Linked DNA regions of Homo sapiens: regions 2 and 3 are each linked to region 1. Evidence: promoter capture Hi-C in 16 types of primary human blood cells and fetal thymus (Javierre and others, 2016). All regions are on one chromosome and are shown on one strand. The core of a region is centred on a gene start or on the middle of the fragment in contact, and the rest is flanking DNA. Distances in the headings are between cores, read along the strand shown. Region 1 holds the start of ST3GAL1 (ST3 beta-galactoside alpha-2,3-sialyltransferase 1). Region 2 overlaps ZFAT (zinc finger and AT-hook domain containing). Region 3 holds the start of NCRNA00250 (non-protein coding RNA 250).

The links. The method cuts DNA at HindIII sites, captures the fragments that hold promoters and counts their contacts. A CHiCAGO score of 5 or more calls a contact.
Region 2: a fragment that was not itself captured here is called in contact with the fragment with the promoter of ST3GAL1 in region 1 in 11 of 17 cell types (naive CD8 T cells, fetal thymus, megakaryocytes and 8 more); the score reaches 13.9 in naive CD8 T cells.
Region 3: a fragment that was not itself captured here is called in contact with the fragment with the promoter of ST3GAL1 in region 1 in 1 of 17 cell types (erythroblasts); the score reaches 7.1 in erythroblasts.

What each region holds. Positions count from the first base shown.
Region 1 is chr8:133,569,291-133,573,136 of GRCh38, forward strand. It overlaps ST3GAL1 (ST3 beta-galactoside alpha-2,3-sialyltransferase 1), which reads right to left and starts at 2,597. Exons shown (of 10, transcript NM_173344.3): 1 at 2,403-2,597. It overlaps ST3GAL1-DT (ST3GAL1 divergent transcript), which reads left to right and starts at 1,282. Exons shown (of 2, transcript NR_186509.1): 1 at 1,282-1,580; 2 at 1,768-3,846. RefSeq lists enhancers at 357-426, 384-1,237, 597-816 and silencers at 2,607-3,096, 3,287-3,346. The HindIII fragment of the contact is 9,717 bases long and covers 1-3,846 here.
Region 2 is chr8:134,679,932-134,683,933 of GRCh38, forward strand. The region is part of intron 1 of ZFAT (zinc finger and AT-hook domain containing); the gene reads right to left. Among named protein-coding and RNA genes, the nearest start is that of ZFAT, 31 kb to the right of the region's middle. RefSeq lists enhancers at 3,004-3,153, 3,784-3,873. The HindIII fragment of the contact is 3,506 bases long and covers 596-4,002 here.
Region 3 is chr8:134,835,560-134,839,841 of GRCh38, forward strand. It overlaps NCRNA00250 (non-protein coding RNA 250), which reads left to right and starts at 2,510. Exons shown (of 3, transcript NR_126028.1): 1 at 2,510-2,750. The HindIII fragment of the contact is 1,553 bases long and covers 1,156-2,708 here.

The DNA.
Region 1 (3,846 bases), core at 1,347-3,846:
CCTCTATTCATTCTTTATTTAGCAAAAAGTGTACGATGGAACTTTTTTCCCTAGACCTGAAGTCAAGGTATACACATACACACATGTAGAGTATGAACTACCTATACATACACACATTCACTTAATTATATGTATTATCGCCACTCGCAATTATGCAGAACGTATTTTGGAGAATGTATTATTGGCCTCATTTTGCAGATATAGAAACTGAGACGCCGAGAGGTTAAGTCTGGCGACCAAAGAGAGACAGAGACAGAGAGACGGGAGACTAGAAGAGGCCCCACGCTGTACCCAGATATTGGCAGAGGCTGAGGGGCACGGAGTGGTGAACTCTAGTCAGTCATTTCAGCCAACCATGGGATTTCAGAAAACAGCCGGCAGGGGTCCTAATGTTTGGGGCAGGAAGGGGAGGTGCGGGAAGGCACTGAGGGACCCCCGCACTGGGCGCCCCTTCCCCACCGCAGAGACAAGCGGCAGTTTCCACAGCAGCCGGCAGGGGGCAGTGCACCTTGCCTTTTCGAAGCCTCTGGGCGCTTGGGCAGCGCGGGGTAAAGAAAATCAGGAGGCTCCGCCCGCAGCTTCTACGAACAGGCCAGGAGTAGAGCCCCCGCACGTAGTAGGTGCTCCAGGCACGTCTAGAAGCCTAAAGGGCTTGGTCGATACATTTGAACTCCATTTTAGAGACTGGAAGGGAAGAAGGGGGCGTCCGGGCCCCTGCCAGCACCTTCCACCTTGGGGCCTTGTCAATGAACACTGCGTTAGCACCTACGACGTGCCAGGCGCCCTGGCGACTATTGGAAAACCCGGCTCCCCTCTCACCCCGTTTTCCTCGTTGGCGAGTCGGCCTCGCCTCCTCCTCCCGTCTCTTCCTCTCACCACACACACCCAGCCGCAGAGCGGGGGTGGGCGCTCGCTGTCTCCCTGGAGAACCAGCTCGTCGCAAACTTGCGGGGCTTGGGGACCCGCGAGGGGGAGAAGTCGGGAGAGGCCAGGGGTGCCCGGAAACAATCACGAGAAAGCCGGGCGAATGCCTGATGCAGGGACGCGGCGAGCCAGTCACTGCCCTCAGGGTCACGGCTGACTCCCTCTGCGGGACTCGCCCAGCCCGCGAGACGCAGTGACCTGCCCAACCCCCACCCCCTTGCGCGCTTCTGGGTGCGCACGTGTCCCCTCGCCCAACACACCACCGAGCCCCGCGCATGGTACGGCCGCCGAGGACCCTAGCGTAGGAGGGAGGAGCGAGTCAGGGCTCCAGCTGACGAGCAGAGCCAGACGATCCCCACACGCTTCCTGGGAGACCCGGCTGCAAGGCCAGGCTAATGCGCGCTCCGACGTCTCTGTGCCAAGCCGGGGCGCAAGCTCAACCCCCATCTCAAGTTCAGCCGCGCTTCCTCCCGCAAGGTCACGCTTAAACACTCGCGCAGAGAAAGGAGGAGCGGAAAGTTGCGCCACCGTCCCGATTCCAAACTAACTGTACCCTCACCAGAGCGCCTCGCCCCAGGGTCACCGCTGTCCGTCCCCGTGCGCTCCCAGAAGGGGTGGCCCTGCCCCCACGCAGGTCACACACACGAGAGACACAGGCAAGTTGCTAACTTTTGTCAGATTATTTCTTGGGAGCTGCGACGCCTCACGGGGTTGGGGCGGATTCAGAGTTTCGAGTTGCCACTAACACGACTCCGGCCGTGCTCTCCTTGGCCCACCCGCGTCCCCCACTGTCCGCCACGCCGCGTTCAGCTCTCTTGTCCCGGGTGTCAACTTCACCCCCAGATCCGGAGCAGCGCGCTCTGACGGCGTCCCCGGGGCCGATAGCCACCTCCCGGATCTGCGCCTGCTTGCAGCGGATTGGGGGACTCGATCCGGATACTGTCCCACGGCCGCTCGTCCAGAACACTGGCGGCCTCCGCGGTGTCCCAGCCTGTGACCCCAAATCCGCTCGAGAGCGCCTGAGCCCGGCCACCCAGCGAGGTCTCCTCCCACGGGCGGCCCCAGCGGAGGAGATCCCAGCCCGGCGCCGGGTGCAATGTCACTGGGGCTGCTTTCGGGAACCGCTGCCCGGGACTTGGCGTAGGTTCCCCACAGAGCTCCAGGCAGCTCCTCCAGTGTCGGCCGAAGACCCCTAAGCCCGAACCTCCACCCCGACCTTCTTCCTCTCCCAAAGCCCTGGGTGGTCGCCGCTGCCAAGGAAGGGGTCTCCCTTCGAATGTCTTCCACTAGAATCCCGGGGTCTTCAGTCCCAGCTCCACTGTCACACCCTCCTAGTCCCCTCCCCACCCCTTCAGTTCCCGGGTCCAGACAATCAACCTTCCACTCCGAGAATCCACAGGAAACTGCCCGAGCCCCAACTCAGGCGGACGCAGCCCCCGCGCACCCCGAGCAGGGTTCGCCTCCGCGCGCGCACTCACCACGGCTGGAGACACGCTGGAGTTTCCGGGATTTGGGCATGAAGGGGTTCGGAGGAGAATACAGGGGTGTGGGTGTCCCGGACACTTGCCCCCTTCCCAGCTCACATCGCCTCTTCCTTCTCTCTCCGCTCTTCTTCCTCCTCCTCCTCCCTCCGGTCTAGGGCTCTTTGTCTTTGCAAAGTGTCGAAACTGTCTGGCATAGTGGGCTCCGCCGGCGGAGGCTGGAGCCGAGGAAGCGAGGAGGCGGGATGAGGGTGGGAGAGGGCTCGGGAACACCTTCCCCCGGGTGTAACGGGAGTGAAAGGCGGGGCGACCGAGGAGGGGCCGCCTTCCCTGGCCGGCCGGGGCCGGGTGCCAGGGCGCGCCAGAGCCCAGCCACCGCCTCCCCTGCGCGCGGCCCTCCCCTTCCTCCGCCCAGTGCCCGCCCCTCCCGACTCTGCGCCTCCGTTCGGCCCCGCCCACCCCAACTTGGCTCGGCTTTCCCTTGGCTCCGGGCTTCCTGCAAGCCGAATTTAGCTCTGCCAAGCCACGTGGACCGCAGCGGGCTCGGCAGAGGCCGAGCCTGGGAGACGCCGGAGGCGGCGGCTGCGGCGCGGGGACCTGATCGGCGCCCCGAGAGGAGCTCCCCGCTCTCTGGACGCGGCCCTCAAGCTGGCGGGGCTAAGGAAGAGCGCCCGGGAGGCCCGGGAGCCACTGGGGTCCGTTTCAGCAGGAAGACGGGCACGCACCGAGAGGATGGCAGTGCCCAGAAGAACTCGAGTCGGGGGCACGGTGGGGAGAAGGGGCCGATCCCCTGCTGGCGACCGGGCAGAGCCACCCACTTCCTCTAAGGGCGCGGGACTCGAGGTGGGATTTAGGGAGGGGGAAGGGAGGAGCGTGGGCTGGACGACTCTTGCGGCCAGAACCGCGTTCAGAGCCACAGAGCCGGGCACTGCGGCCGGCCCTGGTCCCGGCCCCGGCCCTGGCCCAGCCCTTGCCCTGGCTCGCCTGCCGCCGCTTTTTCCTTCCAGATGCGGAGGCTGCGGCTGGAGCTTGGGGTTTGCGGATTAGGCTTGCAGTTATTCAGCCCTCCCTCTTTTACAGGGAAGCGGGGGCGGTGGAGACTTCTTTTGCTGAAAGGCAGAGTGCAGCGCTTTGATGCTAAATGCAGTACACAAGTCATGTAAATCTGGTTTTACGGTTCTTAACCCCTTACTGAGACTACCTCTTTCGCAACTTTTCGGAGGAATGTTAGAGGAAAGAGGCACAGTTTGCCTTTGGGGTCATTGCATCCTTCCAGCGCCCCTTGCTCCAGCTGGAGAGAGATCAACCTTTTGCAGTGGAAGGGGAGAGTCCCCCAGCCTTTGTTTCATCAGACGGCTGCTGTAGTACAGGGATTCAGGCCAGGGCCCGCATGGCCGGACTTCTTGGTTCAAATCCTGCACTGCCACTCAACGGATGTGTG
Region 2 (4,002 bases), core at 1,099-3,598, 1.1 Mb after region 1:
CTGTGGGGGGTTGGGGGTTGGGGAGGGGGAGGGATAGCATTAGGAGAAATACCTAATGCAGATGACAGGTTGATGGGTGCAGCAAACCACCATGGTACATGTATACCTATGTAACAAACCTGCATGTTCTGTACATGTACCCCTGAACTTAAAGTATAATTAAAAAAAAAAACAGAAAAAATTAGCCAGGCAAGGTGTTGCATGCCTACAGTCCCAGCTACTTGGGAGGCTGAGGCAGGAGAATCGCTTGAACCCTGGAGGCAGAGATTGCAGTGAGCCATGATCGCACCACTGTACTCCAGCCTGGGTGACAGAGCCAGACTCCCCCTCAAAAAAAAAAAAAAAAAAAAGAATTTGAAGCAAAGTCACTTGTGGGGAAAGAATGTAAAGAAAGCACTGGATGATAGTTTGGCTAGAGCATAATAATTGGATTTTCTGGCTTTCAAAAATTTGGATTGTAATAAAAAGAAACTTTGTGCTACTTTTACAATTTTCAGTACAAATAAATGTGTGTATTGAGAAACAATAAAATTAACATATTTGAGTACCTTTTTTAAAAAAAATGAGGGATGGTAAAAGGATGTAAATGGTGGGAAGCTTTCTACACTTCACTCACACAGATCAAATGGCAACAAACAGTGCTGCATCTTGACTGCAGGAGTAATGACACAAACGTACACCAATAAAAATGGATTCAAACTATACACAACACACTGCACCGGCACCAATTTCTTGGTTTAATATTGTATGATAGTTAGTTACATAAGATGTAACTATTAGGTTGGGATAATAAAAAAAAAGTTCTAGAGATCAAGGATGGTGATGGTTACATAATACTAACGTACCTGATGCCACTAAACTATCTACCGAAAAATGATTAAAATGGTAAATTTTGTGTTGTGTTGTGTATATTTTATATTTATTTTAAAAATGTAAACCACTTTTGGGTAAACTGGGTAAAAGGTATGTGAGACTTCTGTATTATCTTTACAACTTCCTGTGAATCTATAATTATTTCAAAATACACATTTAAAAAAATAACTGTGGCAAACAAAAAGACTCTGGATCTTCTGGAACAAACAATAATTTTGAGAAGATCATGTACACTGCTAGGTGGCTTATCCATGAGCCCAGTCAGTCCCAACTACCCTGGAAGATATGTAAGGCTCAGAAAGGTAGAAGGAGGCAGCTCCCAGAGGCACACACAGAATGCAGCCCAGTGAATGTGCCCATCTCTGCTGGGAGGGAAGTTTGGGATCTGAAAGGCTGGCTATGGACCCCACACCTTTGCCCAGTACCTTCTATACCAGCTGGTGGGGAGGTTTGGGGTCTGAAGGGCTGGCTGTGGACCCCACACCTCTGCCCAGTACCCTCTACACCAGCTGGTGGGGAGAGGCAGGGTCTGAAGGGCTGGCTTCTGCCACACCTTTGCCCACTGCCTTTCATACCACCTGTACTCATTACCTGCAGTGACAGCCTCACCAGCCCAATGCCAGCTTCCCCTTAGCGATGATGCTGCTGACACAGTAGGCACTCCATAAGTGCTAGATGATCTGATTATTACAAAATGATTAACCATTTATCAATGCCCTCAAGAAGACAAAATGCTACATTATGAGACTAGTACATTACTCTGTTTAAAAGCTCTAGATTAAACATCTCTTACTTCTTCTCCTTGATTAGTATAAATCATCCTCCCTGCTTTGTAACTATCTTTTACTTGTATTTATTAACTTTAGAGAGAGTACAACCACCAAAACTAAGATCCTATTAAATTATCTATCTTATGAGGAGAGGAGTAGGGTGGCAAATTCTTTCTGAGTTATACTTTTGTTTTCTTGTTTTTCATTTGCCCTTAAGTTATTAATTTAATAAGGGCCAGTAGCTTCCCAATAGGAATGGAAATATTTTAACAACATAAAGCCAGATTGCTGTCACATCCAGCGGAATCAATAAAGTCTCATATGTGCAGCTGAGTACAGTTTAAAATATCTTTTTTATATATTCAGGAAGAGACTCAGGTTAGAACAAACATTTTCCTTCCATTTAGCTCATCTTGCAGAACTTTTAATCAGCTGTGAATAAACTATGTCATCAACTTCATTACCGTCATTATACTTAGGGAAAACTTGCTGTAACCAAAACAATGGCATTGAAAGAGGAAGAAGCCGATGAGAAGGGAGGTTAAATTAAACCCTCACCATGAGCTGGCACCAGCAGAGGCTCATACGAGGCTTATTTAATTCTCACAACAATCCTGTGAAATAGGTTTTATTATTGTATTTCCTCAAATCTAAGACAGCATCTACTTTAGGGAGCACGGATATTTTACATACCACTAAAAAAGATAAAAACGCTGCCAAATAAACTCAGAGACACTAGCTTCTCACCACACCAACTGTAAGCTGCCTCCTGATCTTAGAGATGCTAAAATCTAAGTCTGGCCGGGCACGGTGGCTCATGCCTATAATCCCAGCACTTTGGGAGGCTGAGGCAGGCAGATCGCTTGAGCTCAGGAGTTCGAGACCACCTAAGGGACATGGCGAAACCTGTCTCTATCAAAAATACAAAAAATTAGCCGGGTGTGGTGGCGCCTGCCTGTGGTCACAGCTACTGGGGAGGCTGAGGTGAGAGGATCGCTTGAGCCTGGAAGGCGGAGGTTGCAGTGAGCAGAGATTGTGCCATTGCACTCCATTGTGGGTGACAGAGTGAAACTCCATCTCAAAAATAAAATAAAATTAAATTAAATTAAATTAAAAAGTCTTTGAATCAATGAAGTTCAGAAACATTTCCATATAACTGGGCAGGCTGGATGTTAGCTGGGGAGAGAGCCTGGCTCCCAACCTCGGCTCCCTCCCCTGTAAGGCCCTTTTTCCCCACTCTGCACACCGTACACACTCAGGCTGTAAGCCTGGCTTCTGAGCTCACTTCTATGGCAGCACAACAACCCTACTTTCAAGGGAGAGGAGATAAACATTTCCTGAGTACCAGAGGCTTTCGTACTCCCTCTCACATTTGATCTGGACAAGCTGGGTTGCTGCTAGCCCTTAAGGCACCTCTGTGAGAAATGGACAAACGCACCCTTCCTTAAGACACTAGCACCCCCTGTCAGAAAATGGTCATAACATATTGAGTTTGTTGGAATAATACGCTTTGCAGCCATTTGTAGAAAACTCATAATAAACATACAAATTCACTATGTGAAATGAGCCCCCTTAGAAGTGGCTCCCTTGGGGGCATGGAGGATACAAAAACAAAAGAAGAAGTGGCTCCTTTGTGCAGTGTGTAACCTGCACAGCTGTACACAGTAGCTCTGCTAATGTGTCAGACACAAAGATATGATTATCCCACGTTACAGATGAGAAAGCTATAACTTGCCTAAGAATCAAATACAGGCCTGTATGGTTCCACAGCTACTTGATGAATCGCAAGGAGCTTAAAAATTAGGTAGGAAAGCAGGTTGTATGTGTGCGCATCTACATATGAACATACTAACCACAGGCCACAGAAGCACGTGTGGAGAAGGCAGAGATCCCTGTGGCTGGAGCACCTGGAAGAGGTTTGTCAGAAAAGGGGAAGTTGAACTGCTCCAGGAGGTGGCCAGACAGCTGGAGGAAGGAAAGGAGAAGGGAGTGGAAGCCACACAGCCAGTGGGGGCAGAACCAAGAGCCTTGCCTGTTGGAAGAGCCTTGAGTGTGGAAAGAGGACAGGTTAAAGGCAGGGCAGGCACACTGAGAGCTGTGGCGGCTCCACCAAGAGCCCCCCGCCACAGACCGGTACCTGGACAGGAAATGGATGCAAGAAGCTCCTGCCCCGCAAGCAGGAGGCCCATCCTGGAGGTCTGGAGACAGGGGGTGGGGCACTTAGAAAGCCTGCTCTGTCTGATGGGGTAGCTGCCTCCCAGGTCTAGTCAATGGAGGCCCAAATATTGAATTTGTAGTTGGAATCCCCTGATTTTTAAGCACTGGCCATCAAATAAGATTTTTCTGGGAAAGAAAAAAA
Region 3 (4,282 bases), core at 682-3,181, 1.3 Mb after region 1:
GCACTGCACAAACCCAGGGAAGCTATTTGCATGGGAGTCTGTGAATGGCATCCTCTGGGACTGTGCAGTGCTCAACCTCTATGAACATATGTAGCAGTCCTGAGTGACATGTACATGGCATGTCTCTGTCTACTTTGGCAATCTAAATTATCCTGATGATATCTTCGATAATAGAAATAAACATTTGTGGGATATCTACCAATTGTCATCTCAAAAACTTATTTTAATGTACAAATTTTATATCTAAAGATTTGCGCATGTTTCAAAATGCTTATTAGACTGATGTCATTACCATTCATTTATTCTAAAAAATGACAATTGAGCTGCTAAGTTTCAGGCATGATTCAAAAGCCTGGTTCTATAAATGTATTGAGCACCAACTACAAATCTTAGAAACACCATTAACTGATTTCTTTAAAATATCAGCTTATGTTTATGTTTTTTTCAGTTTATGCCATTTTATAATATGAAGATGTCCTCTATATCCTCTTTTTTAGAGATGGAATCTGGCTCTGTTGCCCAGGCTGGAGTGTAGTGGCACGATCTCGGCTCACTGCCACCTCCACCTCCAGGGTTCAAGCACTTCTCCTACCTCAGCCTCCTGAGTAGCTGGGATTACAGGTGCCTGCCACCATGTCTGGTTAATTTTGTATTTTTAGTAGAGATGGGGTTTCACCATGTTGGCCATGCTGGTCTCGAACTCTTGACCTCAAGTGATTTGCCTGCCTCAGCCTCCCAAAGTGCTGGTATTACAGGCATGACCCACCGTGCCTGGCCTCTAAATCCTCTTTATTTCATAGACAATCATCTATTAAAATCTGGAGATGAAATGTTCTTTCATTTCAGACAATTCAATATAGTAGGATGCCTCAGTGAATATAAAGCTTTTACATAATTTTTTTCCTCCTGGCGTTATCAGAAGAGGTAACAGAAAGTTAAGTTGGCTTTGTTAGGAGTCTCCTGGGAGCCCTAGGGAAAGCTACCTTAGTAGAGTGGGTGCAAGACCCCACTGGCCAGAAAAGAGTATAATTATGCTTTGAGCCCTGGATCATTCTGTAGAGGAAAGCTGCCCTCCAACCAGAAACATCTAATTTAGATGGTTATATGAGCGAGAAATAACTGAAAATTTGTTTGTTTGTTGTTGTTATAGCAGCAAGCTTTACTCAATGAATTAATTGGAAAAGTAAATAATATGACCATATTTGCACCCCAAATTTGTGGAGCTGCTCATACTAACAATTTTAAATTCTTTTTTTTCAATAGCTTTTAGGATACAAGTCATTTTTGGCTACATGGATGAGTTATATAGTGATGAATTCTGAGATTTCAGTGCTCCCATCACCCAAGTAGTGTACATTGTACCTAATGTGTAGTGTTTTTATCCCTGGCTCCCCACTCCCACCCTCTTGCTTCTGAGTCCATTATATATAAATGATATAAAGTGATATAAAGTCCATTATGTCACTCTGTATGCCTTTGCATATTCTAATAATGTTAAACTCTTAATTTCTGAACATGCAATTAAGTGAGCCTCTGCCTCTAGTAGTCTTTACAGTTGACCCTTGAACCACCCGGTTTGAACTTCGTTGAGCTGCTATACTTGGATTTTCTTCTGCCTCTGCCATTGCTGACAGTACAACCAACCTCTCCTCTTTCTCCTCTTCCTCATCCTACTCAACATGAAGATGATGAGGATGGAGAGCTTTATGATGATCCACTTCCACTTAATGAAGAGGAAATATATTTTCTCTTCCTTACGATTTTTTCATTAATGTTATTTTCTCTGGCTTACTTTATTATAAGAACACAGTATATAATACATATAACAAAATATGGGTTAATCGACTGTTTATGTTATCAGTAAGGCTTCTGGTTAACAGTAGGCTACTAATGGTTATGTTTTTGGGGATTCAAAAGTTATGCTTGGGAGTTTTGACTGCGCATACAGGGGTTGTTCCCCTAGTTCAAAGGTCAGCTGTATTACATGGCTTCCAGGTCTTTGATGGCTGTGCTATGCATGAGTGTCACTGCTGGAAAACTGTTATGTGCAGTTCCAGAAGCTGACATACTTAGTTAAAAAAAAAAAGGGTTGGGGGGGGCTACTCAGGAGGAATCAATACACACATACATATGTTGAATCACACAGACACTCACGTACTCACATACACACACACACACACACACGTACTCACACATGCTACACAATAGTAGGATGCAGAGTTCCATCATTTGAAACTCTGGAAAAACTTTCACCATTTTTACTATTATTACCAGCATCAACATCTTTCTCGCCATTGTAAGTCAAGACATTGGAAAAAGTCTGAAACAATAATCTTGACTATTCACAGTAACTCCGGAACAATGAAGGAGGAAGAATGAATGAGTTGCGCCCTGAAGATGGTGGGCTCTCCTTTATGCATGATCATCACGATCTCTCTGCAATGTCTGTCCTGTGACCTCGTGAGGTGTGCAGCGTCATGCCAGACATCTGTGTTTGGATGGCCCTCTGGCTCCTCCACAATTACTGCAGAGTCAGAAGTGGAATTTCCGCCTGATGTTTTATGTCAAAATCAGTATGAAAGACTGCAGCATGCTGAGTGAGCTTTCCGTTCTCGCTGAGATGCAATGCAGGGTCCACCCTCTGCAGGCCACAATTTTGCCTGGAGGCAAAGCATTCAGTCTTTCCATTGGCCTGACAATTTGAGCCAAGCTTTGAGGCCAACAGACAAAATGCACTAGCAACTGGAGAGGTGAGTTTTGTTAAATTACAATAACATCCATGCATCCAGGGGAGCTGCAAAAGTCATTCCTGTTCCTGTCAGATGCACTCAAAATCAACAGCCAAATTATTCCTGCCAAATGCTCTGAGGCTATTGAATAGAGTCTTGCACTATTTTAAATAGTAACTTAAAACCTCTAGTTTCATGGCTCAGTAATAATCATGATAATTCTAATCAGTATCCTCATTAGTGAATGCTAATAACTGTTTATTGAGTGGCCACCATGTGCAAGTGCTTTGCTAGATACTTTATGTATGCCAGATATTTAAGCTTCGTAATCGCTTTGTAAGGTGGATGTTATTATCCTGTCCTATCGCTGGAGAAACAAATTCAGGACACGTAAGCAACTTGCCCAGTGTTACCACCCACAGAGATGACGTCAGTGTACTTAAAGAATACATGGGCTAGGCACGGTAGCTCACGCCTGTAATCCCAGCACTTTGGGAGGCCCAGGCAGGAGGATTGCTTAAGCCCAGGAATTTGAGACCAGCCTGGGCAAAATGCAAAACCCTGTCTCTACAAAAAAATACAAAAACTAGTGGGCATGGTGGTGGGTGCCTGTAGTTCCCACTACAAGGGAAGCTGAGGTAGGACGATCACTTGGGCCTGGGAGGTGGAGGCGCAGTGAGCTGTGTTTGCACCACTGCCCTCCAGCCTGTGCTACAGAGAGATTCAGTCAAAAAAAAAAAAGGAATAGTCTTTGAAAAAAAATGGCTTAAGACTTAAGTATGTAAGAGCTACTTCCTAGCTCAGGGATATTTTAAACAAGCCTTTTATTAGAAAATTGTAAACATACAAAACTAGAGAGCTATACTCATCAAGCAGCTCCTATCAGGAATAATTTGGAAGTAAAGGGTTTTGAATGATTTCTACCTTATTTTTCTTGGAGGAGAGCCAAGTCCTTAATAAGAATTTCTGCAGAAGAGGAGCCTGGGGCTGAATCTTATTTATAGAGGCAAAATACTATTTTTATTTCAATCTCACATTCTTACTGTCCCCTTGAATTTTCCAATTAATGCTGAAATAGCAAATAATATGAAGACTTAATTTTGAGTCGTCTAGTCCTCCTCATCCCTACTGCAAATCCTCAGTTTAGGTTTAAGGCAGGTTTATGCTGAGTCACATAATAGTCTCCTCCCTTGTTATAATCCACAGCAAGACTGCAGGGGTTCTTCATATTGTGGAACAGGCCTAAGTCAACTTATGTTTAGCAAATAATTGATTTAAACTGAGGTTGATTCAGTGGTATGCTGTAGCATGCTCATAGTGGCTCACAAGAGCTAATTGTACATGTCTCTTTCTAATTTTACATTTGATGACATGACACTGGTGACTTGAAATTGGCCACGGTGAGAGTATTTATACCATGGAAATTGACAAATGTACAAATCAGGGCTTCTGTTCCTCCAGAGAGGCAGTTGTTAAATATTTATCAGCACATTACTGGGTAGATTCTATTATTTGCTCAAAAGTATCTGCTGTCCTTCACTGTGGGTCTACTC